Linked DNA regions of Homo sapiens: all the other regions are linked to region 2. Evidence: promoter capture Hi-C in 16 types of primary human blood cells and fetal thymus (Javierre and others, 2016). All regions are on one chromosome and are shown on one strand. The core of a region is centred on a gene start or on the middle of the fragment in contact, and the rest is flanking DNA. Distances in the headings are between cores, read along the strand shown. Region 1 overlaps N4BP2 (NEDD4 binding protein 2). Region 2 holds the start of RBM47 (RNA binding motif protein 47). Region 3 has its middle 11 kb from the start of RHOH.

Region 1 (2,952 bases), core at 352-2,851, 480 kb after region 2:
CTCATATTGGAAAATTATACCTTACCACATTATAACCTCCTTTACACAGGTTTAACTTGCATACTAACAGAATTTATTAGCTAACCAAACAACAGAAGTTAATGACAGCTTCCTTTGAGAAAGTTGGCTCTTTTTCAAAATAAAAGTGAAAATATTTTAAATTGTAAGGATTCTTCTTATGATTATAACCAAAATATTTTCTCTTTTTTTTCTTTTTTTTTTTTGGAGACGGAGTCTTGCTCTGTCACCCAGGCTGAGTGCAGTGGTGTGATCTCGATCTCGGGTCACTGCAACCTCCACCTCCCAGGTTTAAGCGGTTCTCCTGCCTCAGCCTCCCAAGTAGCTGGGATTACAGGCACACGCCACCACACCCAGCTAATTTTTGTATTTTTAATAGAGACGGGGATTCACCATGTTGGCCAGGCTGGTCTTGAACTTCTGACCTCAGGCGATCCACCTACCTCGGCCTCCCAAAGTGCTGGGATTACAGGCGTGGGCCACCACACCAGGCCAATTATAAACAAAATATTTTCTATATTTGTTTAATAGAATTTTAACCTACTGCAGTTTTAAAATTACATGCCTCAAAAATAAAATATAAGTATTTAGTACTGTCTGAAATACGACTTATACAGACAGTTCTAGAAGCATTTCGATAAGGCAGCAACATCTGGAAGATATTTAACCATTTCTTTTTCTCTGAAAACCTTTCTGTCTATAGAAAGTATAAAATTACAATATAATCTCAGACCCAACTTTCTTTCCATAAAATGCACACAGAAGAACAGAACAAAAGGTAAAAGATCAAGGTCATATACAAAGCAGAAGAAAGGGCAAAAGCATGTCTTCCTTCCTGTAGGATATGGCAAAATAAAAGCATTTTATGTGTTTAGTTTTGAAAATAAAAAATATTCAAGTGTTTTTGTTAGATCTCCTTTTTTTCTTTACTACCACTACTATGTCCTTTTTCCTCTTTTAATACCACCCTTTGGGGGGCATGAATCAGGTCTCAAAGCACTTTAAATACCTCTCACAAAAGACTTTTAGGACATTACTAAATGTCATACAACAATTAATACAAAGGTAACCTTTTCTGAGAAACAATCAGAGCATTTTAAACTTTAAAACTGTAGCTGATAATTTTCTTACATATTTTGTAATCAATAAAATTTCTCTGTAATATCTTTAACAGGTAACATTTGCATTTGATTCAGTAAAAAATCAAACCTCACTTGCATTTTGAAAAACATCATAATTTTTTTGTTTCATAATTGAATATTATTTATAATAAAACACATCTTTAGGGTAGAATTGACTGAATTACTGCAAATAAAAGTAATTTTAACCTACAAACCTTCATACTTCTAATTCAAGGATGTTTATTTTACTTTAGCATGACTTTCAAGCACCCTGGTTTAATTTCAGAGAACCTGCAGAAATGAGAAAAGAGTTATTTTAAAGATGAAAATTTCAAATTAGCTAAGGAATATACCTTGTAATCAATTCCAAGTACCTACGCTTAATATAATATTTACTACCAAAGTATTGACCCTTATTAAGTCAATATCCAAGACCAACATCTAGGTTTGTGTTCCTTTTATCTACGGTCAAAACAAATACAATCTTAAAGCTGGAGGTTGCTCTTGACTTAGTATAACTTAAGATTTGTCAAAACCTGTGAGGCCTGAATTTTACCTTTATGAAAAAGAGTATGCTGTAGGAAGAATAAAGTCCTTGGTGCATCATGAAAGCACCAAGAAGAAATCTCTGATATATCAGGTAAGTCTGATTAATCTGGCCATGCAATGCTTTCAACTCTATCCGGAGAGAATTTAAAGGAAGACTAGTCTCTAAAATAGATAATTAATCTCAACATAATGTTCTGGTCTAACTACTCCTTTTATAAAAATAACCCTGATGTCACCTGTTTTATGCTCATAACTTATGCTATCATTTTCGATAATGTAGCCAAATAACATCTTATTACATGGCATAAAATAAATATGCTACACTGAAATTGGTGGGTAGGAGTTAATGATACACATCTGCAGGAAATCTATCCATCAACAGATATTTCATCTTTGACTTTCTTGTCATTTTCTGTTATTAAATAATTATCACTTAATGAAAAAGAACATTTCATGTTTGTCAACACAGGTCATTAATGGCATTTAACTTATGAAAACACAAATAAATTCATATTAACTGAACATTTCTGCTAAAGTTTAAACGTACCTAAATTATAACTATATTTCAATAGAAGCCACCCAATTCCATCCAAAATCCACAAATACTGATTTCCTTTCAAAAGAATAATAGCAAATCTTAAAGTATGATACATATTACCTAATTATTTTGCATATTATCAAAGAAACAAATATATTTACTTTCTTTTAGAACTTTAAATTTATGATAGAAAGTTTTATCAGATGATTATTGGCAACAAACACATTTTTCCTTATTTCTGGTTTACCAGACAACATAAATCCAGCAGGGAAAGTTATATCATAATTTAAGCATGAATCTGTGGCTGAAATCAGATGATTAAATTTAGTTAACTATTTTAACAGATTGTTCTGAGTACGCTATTAGTGTTTATTTACCTAGCTATATTAGGGCTATTGCTATTATCAATAACAGAAATCTATACTCACAGAAATATCTGATAAAGATCTATATGGGCAGTTGCCATTATTAATAACAGAAATCTACACTCACCTGAAGCTATGGCTTATGAGGTACTTAATGACAGCTGGTTTGATGCGAGCAACTCCTCCCTGGCTGTGGTTTCCTCTCCCCGTAATCACAGACAAATAGGGCTTCCCACCGTTCTGCTTAAATTCTGTTACAACAGAAATCAGGGGAGTTAAAATTCATTTATCTTACATTCTCAATAGAAAACGTAAACCTTAGCTACTCAAGCACATGAAATTGTTTTCATGAGGATTTTGG
Region 2 (2,755 bases), core at 68-2,567:
CAATGCTGGTGCTACAGCCCATGTCTAACTCTGACCACACACTCTTCTTCAGAAAAAAGCCATAATGTAAATAATAATAAGAAGAATAACAACAACAATAACGGCAGCTAACACTGTGTGCTAGGCACCGTTCTAAGCTCTTTGCATGTGTTAACTCAACCAGCAAAGAACCATTTTTGGAACATTCTTTCACTAAAGTAGCCCGGTATTTTTTTCTTTCCCCTCAGCTGAATGACACTGCAACCCGAAATCACAACTCTGTTTTAGGTTCCTGGTGGTGCCTGCTTCCTCTTCTAGTTTGTTTAGTCACAGAATTCGATTCCTGTTGGCCCATTCCGCGCCTACAAACAGGCTTAGCGCTCCACTGAAATGCGGGAGGCTCCTTAACTCTTGTATAAACAGGTAAGGCGGAGGGGGTGGGGCGCGGATTGCGGACATCTGGGTTTCTTGGGAATTGGGATGGGGTGGGGGTTCGAGCCAACTCCCCAGAGAGCAGGCAAGGTGAAGCGAGGGCTTGGCTGCTGTTTCTAAATGCAGTGTTTTTTTGTTCCCTTTCTAGAAACCCTCCGTAACTCTAGGTCAGAGCGCACTAAAATGAGCCACTTCTGAACGAGCAGCGCCCAGGCCCCAGGCCCTGCTGCGAAGGCCCCGGCAAAGGTCAGGGCCCCGTCCGCGTGACGCTCCTGCCTGCGCGCGGCCAAGCCATGCTCGGCCCCAGGTAAGGACGCCCCGGGAGCTCGCCCCGGGAGCTCTCCCCGGGCACGCGGGGGTCGCAGAGATCCCACCTCGTCCAGCGACTTGTTTATGGGGGGAAGAAGGGGAGCGGGGCGGTTCCGATCGGCTTGAAATTCAGCAGCAGGTTCCTAATTTCTCCAACGTGGTTCTGGCTGGGTTTCTCGGAGCAGCCCGAAGGGGGCCGAGCGTCTGACTCGGACAGATGCCCCCAGGTGGAGCAGGTGCCACTTCTGGGTGTCTGAAAGGCATGTGACTTTTGGGGCGGGGAGAGAAGTCCGTCTGGTCAAGTCCCCCAATCTCTGCCATCAAGGCCGATTTTCTTTGAACCTTCAGCAAAGGTATCTGCGCTCCTAAAAAACAACAGGAATGTGGCACTGGCCTTTAGCCAGGGGAGGCTCAGCCAGCAGGATAAAATTTCAGGGCAGATTTACGGGAAGTTGCCGGTGTTGGGAGTAAAAATCTGGTTTGGTGAGTTTAAGGGAAGGGAGTAGACGAGAGACAACCTTGCTACTGTGAGGCGGATGGCCTCGGCAGGGGGCGGGCGGCGGGAGGAGAGAGGGAGGGAACCGGGAAGGGCCCGCAGACTAGACGCTGAGCGCTCCCGTGCGCAGCGCCCCACGCAGCCGGGACGCGGCGCCGCTCTGCGGGTGGAACCGCCGCGCGCTCCCGGCCTCGGGAGCTGAGCCCGAGAGAACTTCGCTGCCTTCGGGTCGCCGCTCCCGCTTTCCACTGTGGAATGTGCAGCTTGGGATAGAGAGAAACCAGGGTTTGGGGAGCGGTCCTCCTGGAGACTTTCTCTCTGCAAGTCTCCAAGGTTAAGCAATTCTGACCCACTGGAATTCCCAGAGCCTGGGAGTTAAGCCTAAAACGCTCTGTTGCTTTAAGCGGCGCGGTGGGGAGTCGCTGGACACTCCTTATTTTGGTTTTACATTAAAAAGAAGGCGGACGAGAAGATGTTGTAGGTGACTTCCTAGCTGTGTTAAGTTGCTCCTGGGCTGTGAATGGTGTTAATTTCTGAAGTGGGCGGCTCCAAAAACTTAACAAGGAAAGGTAAGGTGGTTTTTGGTAGTCCTTCTAACTATTGTCCCTTAATCTTACATTTGGGTCCCAATTTTTGAAGTGTATATTTTTTTCTTATTCTTCTCTCTTTAGCTCTTATCCCTCATGCTATCACTCATCTTCTGTCTCTTGGTATATTTAGTGGGAAATAAAGGGTTTATAAAACGGTTTTAAAAGGGTCAACCTCTGGGAAGGCAGATAATCATATACAGTCAGTCCCATCGTGTTTCCTGTAGTGATGAATCTTTTCCCATAAAAGAAACTGATTTTTTTTTTTCACTCTTGAAAATACATGATTGGACCGCCCAGAAGCACAGGTGACTTTAGACTCAGATTATTACAGTGAGACTGAGGAAGCGTCCTGGACAGGAGGCATCTCATTTAAGTGTTAACCAAGGCAGAGGGGGGTCTTCCTGCAGTAATTTACGTCTGAAAGTAACACTCGGTAGAGGTGTAGTTGTTTCAAATTAAAAATTCAGCCTGTAGAAAAGGGTAGGACTGACGAATTATGACATCTGACAAATTAGCAGTTGACCGGATATTTAAGAAATCAGATAAAATAAATGGAAGTGGAATTTTTCAAATAAATGACTCATTTTTTAATTAGGTAAAAGTTCAGCCACTCTTGGGTACTGTCCCAAGGCATAAGTGATAGGAAGATACCATCTTCAAGGTACTTACAGGCCATTACCGACCTGAACTAAAAATCAAACCTTTTTTTTTTATCTGGTGGTATTTTAATGACTCACTGTTTTCTTTAGCAGGAATATAGATTTTAAAATGTATTCTTTAAAAGTTTTAAGGCAAGGTCATACGAATTTCTCAGGGGAGGGAAAGCAAAGGGTTGACAACCCAACATGAAGGAGTTGCCGAAGTTTTGAGCTCAAAAGGTTGGCAATTAGATCCAGAGCATTTGAGAATTGCAGGTGCCGATTCTAAAAGGTGAAAGGTGGTCAGCGGC
Region 3 (3,134 bases), core at 40-2,539, 440 kb after region 2:
CTTAAGTGAATAAAATGCATCTTAGGCTGGGCACAGTGGCTCACGCTTGTAATCCTAGTGCTTTGGGAGGCCAAGGTGGGAGGATCACTTGAGCCCAGGAGTTTGAGACCAGCCTGGGCAACATAGCAAGACCCCATCTCTACAAAAAAATAGAACAATTTTAAAAATAAATAAATAACTGTGTCATATAGTGACATATAACCAACACAAGGAAGTCAGGGTATGTCCTGAGTTGGAAAGTAAATGACCAGTGTCGTTTTAATTACATGTAGCCATTTAAATTTTTTTTTGCACAAATGTCCAGAATGTGTACAGATTTTTGGCTTTGGATGAATGTAGGCTTTGTTTGTTTGTTTTTAAAGATTCCATTTACAGTATTAAAAATGGTCAAGAAAATCAGCTTACCAGAACACAGCACACTCCTTAAGTTTTCCTTACTTCAAGAGAAATTTTATAGTTGACCTATTGGCAAATCAGGAATAATCTGGCTAAAGCTTTGGGAGGCCAGATTCAGATTAGCATATCCCTTCTTCCTCACCAATTAATTTCTTGTCTTGGTAGTATTCCCTGCTTAAGATAAATGATAAATGTTGAGTCAGTGAAGTAAAATTGTGAATTTCATTCACTTTATTACTGATGCAATTATCATGAAAAGAACCAGCTTAAAATATCTGTGTGAAAATGAGTACTTATTTATAAATTGCAATTGGGCCCATAGATAAAAAACAACAGTGACAACAACAAAATATGTCATCCAGATGAGACTTGATACCAGTTGGCATGACTTATCAGGAAAAATAGTCATGGGCTCAATGAAAGAGAGACAAGTATGGGCACGAGTCAACCATGTTCTTCTTGAAGGCAATGATTTCCTTTCTTTGATCCTGGTGGCTCAGTCCTAGGAAGCAGACAATATCAGCTCACTGCAAATCAAAAAATCTTTAATGACATGGGAACATGCTCACAATATACTGTTAAGTGAAAAAAGCAGGTTACAAAACGAATTTGGATTCAACTTGTTGTATACACACATGCCAATGTTTATAGAGGCAACCTCTAGGTCAGGGGTCCCCAGTCCTGGGGCTGCAGACCAGTACCCACCCGTGGCCTGTTAGGAACTGGGCCGCACAGCAGGAGGTGAGCAGTGGGCAAGTGAGTATTTCAGGCATGAGCCATGCTGCCCAGCCACATATTTCCCAAATGTTCTGTAATGAGCATCTATCATTTAGATGAACCAGATGAAAAGTTGTTGTTCCTTTTTTATTTTTCTTAATTTCATTGAGCAAGTCTACCTAAGTTTTCTCTATAAACCCTTGTCACTGCTTCGGTCACAATGTTTTACATAATAACCAGTGATTTTTATAGCAGTTGATTCTCAGGGGAGAATCACTGAACCACAGCTAAGCATAGCAAAGTCATCTTCCTCATTACTCAGCTTACATAGGATCATATTTAGAGGATTCCAACCCAATGCCAATTCAAACTTCCAGACAGACTCCAAAAACAAGGGATTCCAGAGGCTTTTGCATCAAACCTCTTAAAAGGCCTGTCTTAACTTTCCCTTAAAATGGAAATTATACCTGGGAAACACATCCTGGGCAATCTCAGTAGCTTTCTCTTCTCATGGGAAGATAAAGGAGTACTCAAAAATAAAAAAGTGAGGTTTCTGGGTAATTAATTCAGTGTCTGTGCTCAAAAAGAAAGAGGTAGTGGGAAATGCTTGAGGATCATTAGAGGAAAACATGTTTGTGACAAGTGCAGTCAAGGATTGCAAGGTCTGGTTTCAAACTAAGCCTGCTGCGTTCTCATTATTATTATTATTACCTAAATTATTGTAGCTGTGCATTTTTTTAATCATTTAAAAGAAAAGGAAGTAGTTTTGTAATTTCTCCTAAATGAGTACCTTCCTGCTTACATGGCATTTTAAATTACATATAAAATTTCAAGATTAGTCATAAACAAATGTTTTTTGCTTTTTTTAAAAACCACATAAACCTTTTAAAAAGTAAAATTTCTATTAAAATGTTTTTTTCCAAATAATAAGTTTAAGTTCTCAAATGTTTACCAAAAACAAAACAAGCTTTACAATTTTGAGCAAACCTATCTCTATAGTATTTATTATTCAAAATAGAAAATAAAATTGTTTTTGTTCTCTAATTCTTGTCTTTTAATCTTCTAAATATACAATAATGAGATTTCTAAAAATACTTTGAAAGGGTATTCACATTACTAAGTTTTCTTTTAACTTTAAATTTTTTTCTTTCAAATTCAATTTACAATAGCCTTTTATATTATCATTTATCACAAGAAAACCATAAAACAGCAAAAACCACTATTGCTATTATTAGCAACATCTTCACTTTGTAAATGAGAAAAGTGAAGTTCAGAAAGGTTAAGCAACTTACATAAGGCCACACAGCCAATGAGTAAGGGGACTCCCTGAATCAATTTACTTCTACAGCATTTCCCCTTACAGAAGACAAATTACTTTTCAAATTAATTCATTACAGGACAACAAGAGGCACACGTCGAATGGAAGGGAGACCTGAAAAAAATAGAGAAAAACTGTTATTTTTAAAGGGACATGGATTTATTATTACAAAGAGTAAGCTATAAAATTAAACTATCTGTACAGTAAAATCCCAATTTATTTTTTATTTTATTTATTTATTTATTTATTTATTTTTTGAGACAGAGTCTTGCTCTGTTGCCCAGGCTGGAGTGCAGTGGCGCAATGTCGGCTCACTGCAACCTCCGCCTCCCAGGTTCAAGCGATTCTTACGCCTCAGCCTCCCGAGCAGCTGGGATTACAAATGTGTGCCACCACGCCCAGATAATTTTTGTGTTTTCAGTAGAGATGGGGTTTCTCCATGTTGGCCAGGCTAGTCTCGAACTCCTGATCTTTGATGATCCACCTGCCTCGGCCTCCCAAAGTGCTGGGATTACAGGCATGAGCCACCATGCCCAGCCCAAATCTCAATTTAATATGAAAAAAATTTTTCACGTCTGAAAGGCAACAAATAATTAGACCCGATAGTAATAGTGACTGTCTCTGAATGGTAAAATTGGAGATAATTTTTTCACTTTTTTCTTTAATTTTTTGTACTCTGCAGATTTTTAATGATCAGTAAGGA

Evidence for each region. Contacts are between HindIII fragments. The CHiCAGO score rates a contact against its expected background, and 5 or more counts as called.
Region 1: a contact is called between a fragment that was not itself captured here and the fragment with the promoter of RBM47 in region 2, in 1 of 17 cell types (M1 macrophages). The highest score is 5.6, in M1 macrophages.
Region 3: a fragment that was not itself captured here is called in contact with the fragment with the promoter of RBM47 in region 2 in 1 of 17 cell types (monocytes); the score reaches 5.3 in monocytes.

Annotation. Positions count from the first base shown.
Region 1 is chr4:40,152,670-40,155,621 of GRCh38, reverse strand. It overlaps N4BP2 (NEDD4 binding protein 2), which reads right to left. Exons shown (of 18, transcript NM_018177.6): 17 at 2,719-2,842; 18 at 1-1,430. The coding sequence ends at 1,385. Among named protein-coding and RNA genes, the nearest start is that of RHOH, 43 kb to the left of the region's middle. The HindIII fragment of the contact is 3,367 bases long and covers 1-2,952 here.
Region 2 is chr4:40,628,426-40,631,180 of GRCh38, reverse strand. RBM47 (RNA binding motif protein 47) reads left to right here and starts at 1,317. Exons shown (of 7, transcript NM_001098634.2): 1 at 1,317-1,785. RefSeq lists enhancers at 1,454-1,523, 706-1,583, 1,584-2,460. The HindIII fragment of the contact is 8,976 bases long and covers 1-2,755 here.
Region 3 is chr4:40,184,510-40,187,643 of GRCh38, reverse strand. It overlaps a transcript of N4BP2 not described here. Among named protein-coding and RNA genes, the nearest start is that of RHOH, 11 kb to the left of the region's middle. RefSeq lists an enhancer at 1,759-1,828. The HindIII fragment of the contact is 1,586 bases long and covers 497-2,082 here.